Linked DNA regions of Homo sapiens: region 1 is linked to region 2. The links are contacts of gene promoters, found by promoter capture Hi-C in human tissues and cell types (Jung and others, 2019). All regions are on one chromosome and are shown on one strand. Each heading gives the region's core, a stretch centred on a gene start or on the middle of the fragment in contact. The rest is flanking DNA. Distances are from core to core; before and after follow the strand shown.

The links. Contacts are between HindIII fragments. The study calls those that stand out against the background at their distance.
Region 1: a fragment that was not itself captured here is called in contact with the fragment with the promoter of IGF2BP2 in region 2 in 3 of the 25 tissues and cell types used here (IMR-90 fibroblasts, adrenal gland and mesenchymal stem cells).

Annotation. Positions count from the first base shown.
Region 1 is chr3:185,874,644-185,879,925 of GRCh38, reverse strand. No RefSeq gene overlaps it. Among named protein-coding and RNA genes, the nearest start is that of IGF2BP2, 52 kb to the right of the region's middle. The HindIII fragment of the contact is 7,069 bases long and covers 1-5,282 here.
Region 2 is chr3:185,822,082-185,827,212 of GRCh38, reverse strand. It overlaps IGF2BP2 (insulin like growth factor 2 mRNA binding protein 2), which reads left to right and starts at 2,171. Exons shown (of 16, transcript NM_006548.6): 1 at 2,171-2,430; 2 at 4,000-4,060. The coding sequence starts at 2,253. RefSeq lists silencers at 1,354-1,443, 1,854-2,123, 2,135-2,365 and an enhancer at 3,305-4,168. The HindIII fragment of the contact is 4,290 bases long and covers 1-3,822 here.

The DNA.
Region 1 (5,282 bases), core at 1,882-4,381, 52 kb before region 2:
CTCAGTAAAGTAGACGTACTTTTATTTCTGTCACAGAATCAGGGCTAATTTGAACGCAGGTCAATTTTTTTTTTTTTTTTTTTTTTGAGATGGAGTCTCGCTCTGTCACCCAGGCTGGAGTGCAGTGGCGAGATCTCAGCTCACTGCAACCTCTGCCTCCCAGGTTCAAGCAATTCTCTGCCTCAGCCTCCTGAGTAGCTAGGATACCAGGCATCCACCACCATGCTCGGCTAGTTTTTTTATTTTTAGTAGGGGTGGGGTTTCACCATCTTGGCCAGGCTGGTCTTGAACTCCTGATCTCGTGATCTTCCTGCCTCAGCCTCCCAAAGTGCTGGGATTACAGGCGTGAGCCACCGCGCCTGGCCTGGTTTTTTTGTTTTAATTATTATTATTATTATTTTTGAGATGGAGTTTCACTGTTATCACCCAGGCTGGAGTGCAGTGGCACGATTTCAGCTCACGCCTGAGGTTCCAACCTCTGCCACCCAGGTTCAAGCGATTCTCATGCCTCAGCCTCCTGAGTAGCTGGAATTACAGGTGCGCATTACCACACCGGGCTAATTTTTGTATCTTTAGTAGAGACGGGGTTTCACCGTGTTGTTCAGGCTGGTCTTGATCTCCTGACCTCCAGTGATCCTCCCACCTCAGCCTTCCAAAGTGCTGGGATTACAGGCATCAGCCACTGCACCCAGCCTGGGATACGTGAATGTTTTAACAAACAGAGTTGTAATAGTTGACATGCCAAAAGGAATAAGGGGGCGAGACTGTGGTATCTTACTGTCCCTTTAAAAGATTACAGACCTTGTGGGAGAAGTCCTTCCTCCACCTCATCAGCCACAGGAATGACAAGATGACAGACTGCAACAGCCAGTCTGTCCACGCACAGTGCAGGTGGAAGTGCAGAAGACTGTGCAGGCACCGCAGGAGACTGGGCGGGCAGCAGGACACCAAGCCTGGAGCAGAGCAGAGAACAAGATTTCTTGGAGTGTGAAGGTCAGTGCCTCTAGCTTCAGAGGGGTTGGGGTTAAGGAATTGAAAACAAAATAAAACAAAAATCCTAAATTATCGATACTTATGGATATTCCATCCTCTTTAGATTGTATCATTTGACTATGACTCACAAGAAATATATTTTTACATTGTGGTGTAATATAAAAATACATAAGAAACAAATTTTTCAAAAAGAATATATGTTGCTATGTGTGACAAAGTAAAAATATATCAAAATTTGTATTAAAGATTAGCAGAGGCCAGGCGCAGTGGCTCATGCCTGTAATCCCAGCACTTTGGGAGGCCGAGGCGGGCAGATCACCTGAGGTCAGGAGTTCAAGACCAGCCTGACCAACATGGTGAAACCCTATCTCTACTAAAAATACAAAATTTAGCCAGGCGCAGCGTCTCATGCCTGTAATCCCAGCTATTCAGGAGGCTGAGGCAGGAGAATTGCTTGAACCCAGGAGGTGGAGGCTTTGATGAGCTGAGATCGTGCCACTGTACTCCAGCCTGGGCAACAGAGTGAGACTCCATCTCAAAACAACAACAACAAAAAGATTGGCTGGGCACGGCGGCTCCCCCTGTAATCCCAGCACTTTGGGAGGGTGGGCGGATCACCTGAGGTCAGGAGTTTGAGACTAGCCTGCCCAACATGGTAAAACCCTATCTGTACTAAATATACAAAAATTAGCTGGGCGTGGTGATGGGCATCTGTAATCCAGCTACTCAGGAGGCTGAGGCAGGAGAATCACTTGAACCTGGGAGGCGAGGGTTGCAGTGAGTTAAGATCGTGCCATTGCACTCCAGCGGGGGCAACAAGAGTAAGACTCCATCTCAAAAAAAAAAAAAAAAAGATTAATGTGCCGGGTGTGGTAGCTCACGCCTGTAATCCCAGCACTTTGGGAGACCAAGGCGGGTGGATCACTTGAGGCCAGGAATTCAAGACCAGCCTGGCCGACATGGCGAAACCCTGTTTCTACTAAAAATACAAAAATTAACCAGGCGTGGTGATGCATGCCTGTAGTCCTAGCTACTCGGGAGGCTGAGGCAGGAGAATCGCTTGAAGCTGGGAGGCAGATGTTGCAGTGAGCTGAGATGGCACCATTGCACTCCAGCCTGGGAGGCAGAGCAAGACTCTGTATCAAAAAAAAAAAAAAAAAAAATTAAAAATTTTTAAAAATGAAGCTTATTATTGTATATTAAATACAATATAGAGAATTTTCAATAAACACTACAAAAACAAAAATTGGAAAACACTGTGATTATAAAAACGTGGGCTGGGCTCCCAGCACTTTGGCAGGCCGAGGTGGGAGGAGCACGTTTGAAACCCTGGATGCCAGGAGTTCAAGATGAGCTTGGGCAACATAGTGAGACTTCATCTCTACTGAAAAAAAAAAAAAAAAAGGCCGGGCACGGTGGCTCACGCCTATAATCCTAGCACTTTGGGAGGCCAAGGCGGGTGGATCACCTGAGGTCACGGGTTGGAGACCAGCCTGGCCAACATGGAGAAACCCCATCTCTACTAAAAATACAAAAATTAGACAGGTGTCGTGGCATATGCCTGTAATCCCAGCTACATGGGAGGCTGAGGCAGGAAAATCGCTTGATCCTGAGAGGCGGAGGTTGCAGTGTGCTGAAACCGCGCCACTGCACTCCAATCTGGGCAACAGAGTGAGATTCTGCCTCAAAAAAAAAAAAAAAGTGAGTATCGAGTCTTGTTTCTAGGTCCATACAACTTGCTTAGTACTTTCCCTGAAGACAGCCAACAAACTTGGGTATGGGTAGCTCCAATATCTCAACAAAATATCTGAAAAGATCAGTACTTCAGTACTTAATTAAGTATAATAACAAAAGACTAGAAAGAATCCGAGTATCTTTTAGGAGGGAACTGATGGAATTAATTATGGTATATAATAGAATACTGCGCAGATGTAAAAAGCCATGAGGGGCCGGGCATGGTGGAGCATGTCTGTAATTCCAGCACTTTGGGAGGCCAAGGCAGGTGGATCGCCTGAGGTCAGGAGTTCAAGACCAGCCTGGCTAACATGGAGAAACCCCATCTCTACTAAAAATACAAAAATTAGCCAGGCATGGTGGCGGCATCTGTAATCCCAGCTACTAGGGAGGCAGGAGAATCACTTGAACCCAGGAGGCAGAAGTTGCAGTGAGCCGAGATTGCGCCACTGCATTCCAGCCTGGGTGACAAGAGCAAGACTCCATCTCAAAAAAAACCAAAAAAACAAAAAAACAAAAAAAGCAATAAGGAATACCTATATATACTGCTATAGTATATATAGCAGTATATATAGTATAGGTGCTCTGGACATATTAGCAAATGAAAAAAGAAACCCCCAAAACTGTGTATGGTATGCTAGAGGGAAGGAAAGGATAGAGGAGACAGGGATCGAAAAACCCTTCCGAATACATCTTGTTTTACACATTTGACCATGGAATCATGTAAACATTTTATATAAGCATAAAATATGTATTTTGTTTTTATTTTTTATTTTTTTCAGAGATAGGGTCTCACTCTGTTGCCCAGGCTAGAGGGCAGTGGCATGACCATAGGTCACTGCAGCCTCAACCTGCTGGGCTCAAGCAAGCAATCTTCCCTTTTCAGCCTCCTGAGTAGCTAGGACTACAGGTGTGCACCACTACACCCGGCTTATTTTTATTTTTTTAAATAGAGACAGGGTTTCACCGTGATGCCCAGGCTGATTTTGAACTCCTAAGCTCAAAGCAATCTGTCTGCCTCAGCCTCCCAAAGTGCTGGGATTACAGGCGTGAGTTACAATGCCCGGCCAATTTTTAAATTTTTTTTGTAGAGACAAGGTCTTGCTATGTTGCCCAGGCTGGCCTTGAACTTGCCTCAAGTGATCCTCCCAAAGCACTGAGATTACAGGTGTGCGCCACTATGCCAGCCAAAATATGTATTTAAAAAAAAAAACTCCAAAATATCAAAAGCAAAATGAGATAAACAACCCTAATTTATGTATGTTGAGTTGGTGGTATAACCATACAAATATGAATTATTTCAAATGAGTTTAAAATGCTCTAATTTGAATGTATATTCTTAGTGGGATATACCCTAAGGATAAAAACAATTGGAAAAAAAAAATCCAAATTCATTTTTAACAATCATGTTTGTGTTAATGTCAGTGCTGTTATTCTAAGATTGTTGTGTGTGCATTTTGAGATAAAGCAACAGCGTGGTTATACCGATTTTTTGGTGGAGGAAGAAAAGAAGTAGATTAAGGTAGATGAGGTTAAGAAAAAATCCTGTATTCCTGAGTTTGAATTGGAAGTGTCACTACATGGCTGGGCACAGTGACTCACTCCTGTAATCTCAAAACTTTGGAAGGCCGAGGTGGGTGGATCATTTGAGGTCAGGAGTTCAAGACCAGCATGGCCAACATGGGGAAACCCCATCTCTACTAAAAATACAAAAATTAGCCGGGCGCGGTGGCAGGCACCTGTAGTCCCAGCTACTCAGGAGGCTGAGGCAGGAGAATCACTTGAACCCAGGAGGTGGAGGTTGTAGTGAGCCGAGATCATGCCATCGCATTCCAGCCTGGGTGCCAGAGCGAGACTCTGCTCAAAAAAAGAAAGAAAGAAAAAAAAATATATATATATATATACACATATATATATACACACACACACGTATATATATATATACATATATATATATATACTTTAGCTAAGCTGATACAATACAAATTCACCACAGTCACCTCTTGTCAACTTGGCACTCTTACATACCTCTTTTTTTTTTTTGAGATGGAGTTTCACTCTTGTTGCCCAGGCTGGAGTGCAATGGTGTGATCTCAGCTCACTGCAACCTCCGCCTCCCAGGTTCAAGCAATTCTCCTGCCTCAGCCTCCCAAGTAGCTGGGATTATAGGCATGAGCCACTACGCCTAGCTAATTTTGTAGTTTTAGCAGAGACAGGGTTTCACCATTGTTGGTCAGGTTGTTCTCAAACTCCTGACCTCAAGTGATCTACCTGCCTCGGCCTCCCAAAATGCTGGGATTACAGGTGTGAACCACCGCGCCTGGCCTTACATACCTCTTTTAATCATACTAGTCATACTTAGCTTCCAAGTGGAGAAAGTAACAAAATCATGCCTCTGCCTAATACAATGCAACTATCCCTCATTCAAACAAAAACATGCTAACATTTTCCCAAAAAAACTATACAAATGATACAGGAGCTAGAAAGAAATTATTTAGGCAAAGAGTGAGGGTAAAAGAGTCCTCAGTAAGGTTTCCTTGTAGTAAAAAGCAGCC
Region 2 (5,131 bases), core at 922-3,421:
GAGAAAAAAATATGTGAATACTTGAGACAAAAGCCAGAATTCAAATAACTGCAAATATCTAGGTGAAAATGGATTCATTACTTTCTCCTCTGGATACCTAATTAGTTAAGAAGATCTCCTTCTGTAGAATAAAGTATTTTAAAAGTTCATGAATTCCTGGGGGAAAGAAGAGAAACAGGCATTAAGTGTCTGACCACCCATGTCTCAACACGCTAGGCAGTTATCCTTCTTGTAGCCCTCACAACAGCCCTGCGAGGACTGGTTATTTTATCTCCTTATAGATGAAGAAACTTAGGCTCGAGAATGCTGGAACATCTCAGGGCACAAAGATGGGGGCAGAGAGAAGGTCTGAGTCCGGGGCAGATAGGCCTTCCACTCCAACAGTGTTTACCAGACCAGAATCACCTGGGAGTACTTGCGGAAAATACAAAATCCAGCAAGCCCCATTCTCTCCACGCCGCTCATCAACAGGAAAGCTTGGGAAAGACAATACTACTTCACGACCCAGTCAGGAGACCCGAACTTGTTCCATTCCTACATTCGTGACTTCTCCACCCAAGGACACTCCCCGCACCCGCGCCCCAACGCCTTCACAAAACCCAACATATCCGCGATCAAACCTTCAACTCTCCCAGTGGCCCCCAGAGGTCCAGAGCTTGGAATCTTCTTCTGCCTCCTCACCTCTGAATCCCGCCATTCTTCTCCCTCCTGTAGAATTTCATTTCCTGGCTGGGACCAGGCTCTAACCATCAGGCTTCCAGCCGGGCCCCGGAACTTGCAGCCCGCTCTAGCCTGTCTGGCTCCTGCCCGAGCCCCTCGGCTCCAGCCTGCTCTCATCCCAACCCTGCCTCTTCCGTCGGTCACGTTGTTTCCTCCGCTTGGAAGGACCTCTTTCCTCTCCGGGCCCTTCCCAGTGCTCGGGGAACTCCTACACAGCCTGCGCTCCTCCGCTTCCAGCCACCCTCGCCTCCCACCACCCTGGCTTTGGAGCTGAACCGGCCGCGCAGCCGGGCGGCGACCATCCGTCCCCCGGCCGCTGACCCCAGCGCTCCGGCCTCGCCGCAGTCCCTGGCCCCTCGGCGTTCGTTTCCCCACCCGCCACCTGGCTTTCGCCGCCGCCGCCCGGGAAGCCCTCGGCACTTCCCAGAATAGAGAGCAGCTGCCAACGTCAGGCTGCCGCCTGCCGCGGGGTTCCGGACACGCGGGGTCTGGGCGGAGAGGACGTGACTCCGCGCTGGCCTTCCGCCTTCCCTCCCCGGTCGGGAAACTGAGGCCCGGGACCGGGAACCACTTCCCCGCGAGCACGGTCCGCGAGGGCCCGGCCAACCCCGGTCCTAGGCGTCCCGACTCCCGCGCGCGATCCTTCGACCACACGCGCCGCTCGGTCACCTCAGAGAGCGTGGCGGGGAGCGGGTCTCAGAGCGAGCGCACGGCCCGGGAACGCGCAGGGCGCCAGCCCCGGCCAAGTCGCTGCGAAAGTTGTTGTCTCCCAGCCTGCCCTCGCCTCTCACCTCCGGGACACACCTTCCCGCTTGCCCTGGCAGCAGCGCACTCACATCCGGTCCACCTTGCGCACACCCCTCTCCGCGCTCACTCGCAGCCCCTCTCCCTCCCACGCCCGCGGCTCCCCGTCGCCCCCTCGCGCGCTCCCACCCGCGCCCGGGGCGCGCCTTCCCCGCCCCGCCGCTCGCCCGGCCTCGGCGCCGCGCCCGCCCGGGGTTCCGGCGCCCGGAGCCCCAGCCCGGGGCCGCGACCCGCTTCCGCCCGCCTGGCGCGGGGCCGGAGCCCGAGCAGCCACTGCCGAGCGCGGTGGGCGCGAGGCGAGGGGCGCAGCGGCGCGGGGCGGGGAGGGGGCGCTCGCTCGCTCCCTCTCGGCTGCGCACACGCCCGTACAAACTCTCACACAGACACACGCGGGGTGCGCTGCCGCCGCCCGCCGCTGCTCCTCCTCCCGCCACCGCCTTGAGAGGGAGAGAGAGGGAGGCAGAGAGAGCGCTTTGTCCGCGCGCCGCCGCCCGGCCCGGGACTCTGCCCCGAGGAGGCAGCCGCGCCGAGTCCCCGCCTCCGCCTCTGCCCCCGGGCGGGCCGGGCCGGCCGCGGTGGGGGGAGCCAGGCTGAGGGTGGGGGTGGGTGGCGGGCGGGCGGAGGGCGGGGAGGGGGGGCGGAGGAGGAGGAGAGACGAGGGCAGCGGAGGAGGCGAGGAGCGCCGGGTACCGGGCCGGGGGAGCCGCGGGCTCTCGGGGAAGAGACGGATGATGAACAAGCTTTACATCGGGAACCTGAGCCCCGCCGTCACCGCCGACGACCTCCGGCAGCTCTTTGGGGACAGGAAGCTGCCCCTGGCGGGACAGGTCCTGCTGAAGTCCGGCTACGCCTTCGTGGACTACCCCGACCAGAACTGGGCCATCCGCGCCATCGAGACCCTCTCGGGTGAGCACTCAGCGCGGCCCCCTCCCCCCGCCTCGCCCCGCTCAGGCCGGGACGGCGCCGGGAGGGAGGCCGAGTCCGGCGGGCGGCGCCCGGCGGCGGCTCCCGCGCCCGCACGCTCACTTCCACGCACCAGACCCTCAACTCTCGCCGCCGGCCCGCTCCTGGGACGGCCCGCTCCCCTCCCCCCACAGCTCTGGACTCTGCCCTCGCCCTCGGGGCCGCAGCCTTGGGGCGCCCCCCGTGCCGCTCCGAAGGCTCCCGAGGCTCGCCGGCTCCTTAGGGGCACCCCTCGTTCGCCTGGCGCCCCGGGCTGCTCTGAGCTTCCCCGCCCCCCACCCTTTGAGCGTCCCCTGTCTCACTTCTCCCCTGACCTTCCTGTCACCCCCTTTGTCAGGGTCCCCCCTTCCCCAAATCCAGCGTCTCTTCCTCCTCCCCCGGCCGGACCTTCTCTCTTCCAGTGCCTCGTGCCCAGAACCTCTCGCCCTCTGGCGTCTCCTGAGCCGCACTCTCCTTTCGAGCCCCCTCCCCACCTCGCCCCACGGCCCCCCACTTTTGGCACCCCCTCGGCGCCACCCTGGTGACCCCCTTCGAGATCTCGGGGCTCCCCCAGCCCCAGCCCTCGCACGACGGCACATCCCCTCGGTCCTTTCCCGAACCTCAGTCCCCTCTCGCTTGCTCTCTCAAGCGCTCCTATTTTTCTCTGAATTTTTTGTCCGATTTTATTGAGAAGAACTCGGGGCTGGGGGCTTTCCGCCGCCCGTCCCCCCGCCTCCCGCTCGGCCAGAAGCACCTTTTTACGAGGTGCCCTGTCTCAACTCGGTGGGGGCCAGGGTTGAGAACCGGGAAAGAGGCGACCGGGGGGCCCGCGAGCGCGCTGGAGCCCAGACAGGAGACGGAGAGCGACACACACACACACTCGCGCGCGCGCACTCCCCAACTCTCCCCAGCACACGCTCCGCTCCCAGCCGCGCGGGCCCCCGGGCCCCGGCCGGCGCCCCCCGAACCCCGGCCCGGCGGGAGCCCCTTCCCCACCGGCGTGTGGAGTGGGGGCGGGGCGGCGGCGAGGCCAAGGTGACACCCAGGAGCGGGCAGGGACAGGGCTGTCGCTGCGGCGGACTCCGGGGGGCTTCGGCTCGTTTTCTCGGGGCCACCGGGAGGAGAGGGCAGGGAGGGGAGCCCGGTGGAGCCTTCGGGCCCCGGATTAGCGGAATGGAGAGGTGGGGGCCGGGAGAGCAGCGGGGCCGCGCCAGCCCTGCAGCTTGAGTTTCAAATGAGCTCATCCTTTCAAATTGGCGCCGCTCTTTATTAAATTTGTTTTTCCGGTAATGCCACCCACGGCTATACCTGGGGTCCGACCCGGGCTCGCACCCTCCTCGCCTTGTCCCGAGACACGGGGCGCCCACCTTTCTTTCTACTGGGAACCAAGTTCGCCCAGCTCGATCCGGGTAGGAGACCCCTTGGGGGCGCCCGAAGGCGGAGCCCGAGCGTGGAGTTCCGTGCGTGCCCCCCCTAGACCCCCGCGGGCTTGATCTAAGCAAGGTTCTGAGTGCTTTAATTTCTGTTTTAAAGGTAAAGTGGAATTGCATGGGAAAATCATGGAAGTTGATTACTCAGTCTCTAAAAAGCTAAGGTAAATATACTTTGCTTAGTTTTTTTTTTGCGATTGGCCTTACGTATAAGTAAAAAACGTACACACAGCTTTAAAAAACGTGCTCTTGGTAGTTTTTAAAGGGGCTTTTGTTTGTTTTGTTAGTGGAGATACATAGTTTAGAAAGCTACTTTTTTTTTTTTTACTTTCATTATATAAGGTGTTTACTGTTCTTGGAAAATATCTGGTGCCTAATTGGGGGTCGGGGTGGCGAACACCAGCTATGTTCAGTTCGCTGGGACCCTGTAACTTGTTTATCAAAAATTGCCTCCCACCCCCACCTCCCGCCCCTACCCCCAGCAGAATAGCAGCAAATGCTTGTCAAGACTTCCTGTGAGATGTGAAGAGTAAATATTTACTATGTCAGCTAAATTGCTTAACTAAACTTAGCGATTAATTACTTTTCTCTTTTAGATAGTTTAATGTTGAATAGTAAAATAATTCAGTAAGGGGTCAATATTTTGCATAGCTTTCTAAAGAAGTGGGTTGTTTGGATTGGATGGCAGTTAAAAGCCGGACTTTTTCAGTCACTGAGACTACTGAGTATAGCTTCTGAGCATTTTGTTGTTGTTGCTTGTAAGAAATGTTTGCGGCTAAAATAAATACCCTTGTGAAATCTATAGTTATATTTAAGTGCACTGTTGTTAATGACGGAGTAACAAGTTTTGTGGAGGTTGGATTTCTCCACAGTGATTTGCTAACATGAGAAGAGAAGAGAAAACATCTTTGTTTAAAGTTTATTGTGGACTTTAAATTTGGGCCCTTTATTACTCATTCTAAATTTTTTTCTTCTGCTGTGTGTCGAAACTTAGTTTATATCCCATTCACATACATTTCTTCACCATTAGTCATTAAGTAGCTGGACTGGAGCTGTTCAATGAAGTTTTTGATGACCACCTTTACAGTTTATCAGTCAATAGTTTAACCACCTGATTTTTGTCAGGATTGAGTAGATTTTAAAACAAACTACCCTAATTTTATAAATACTTAGATGTGTTGCTGAAGGGATTTTTAAAAATTGTGTGCCACATTTCCAGATATGTTTTATTTTAA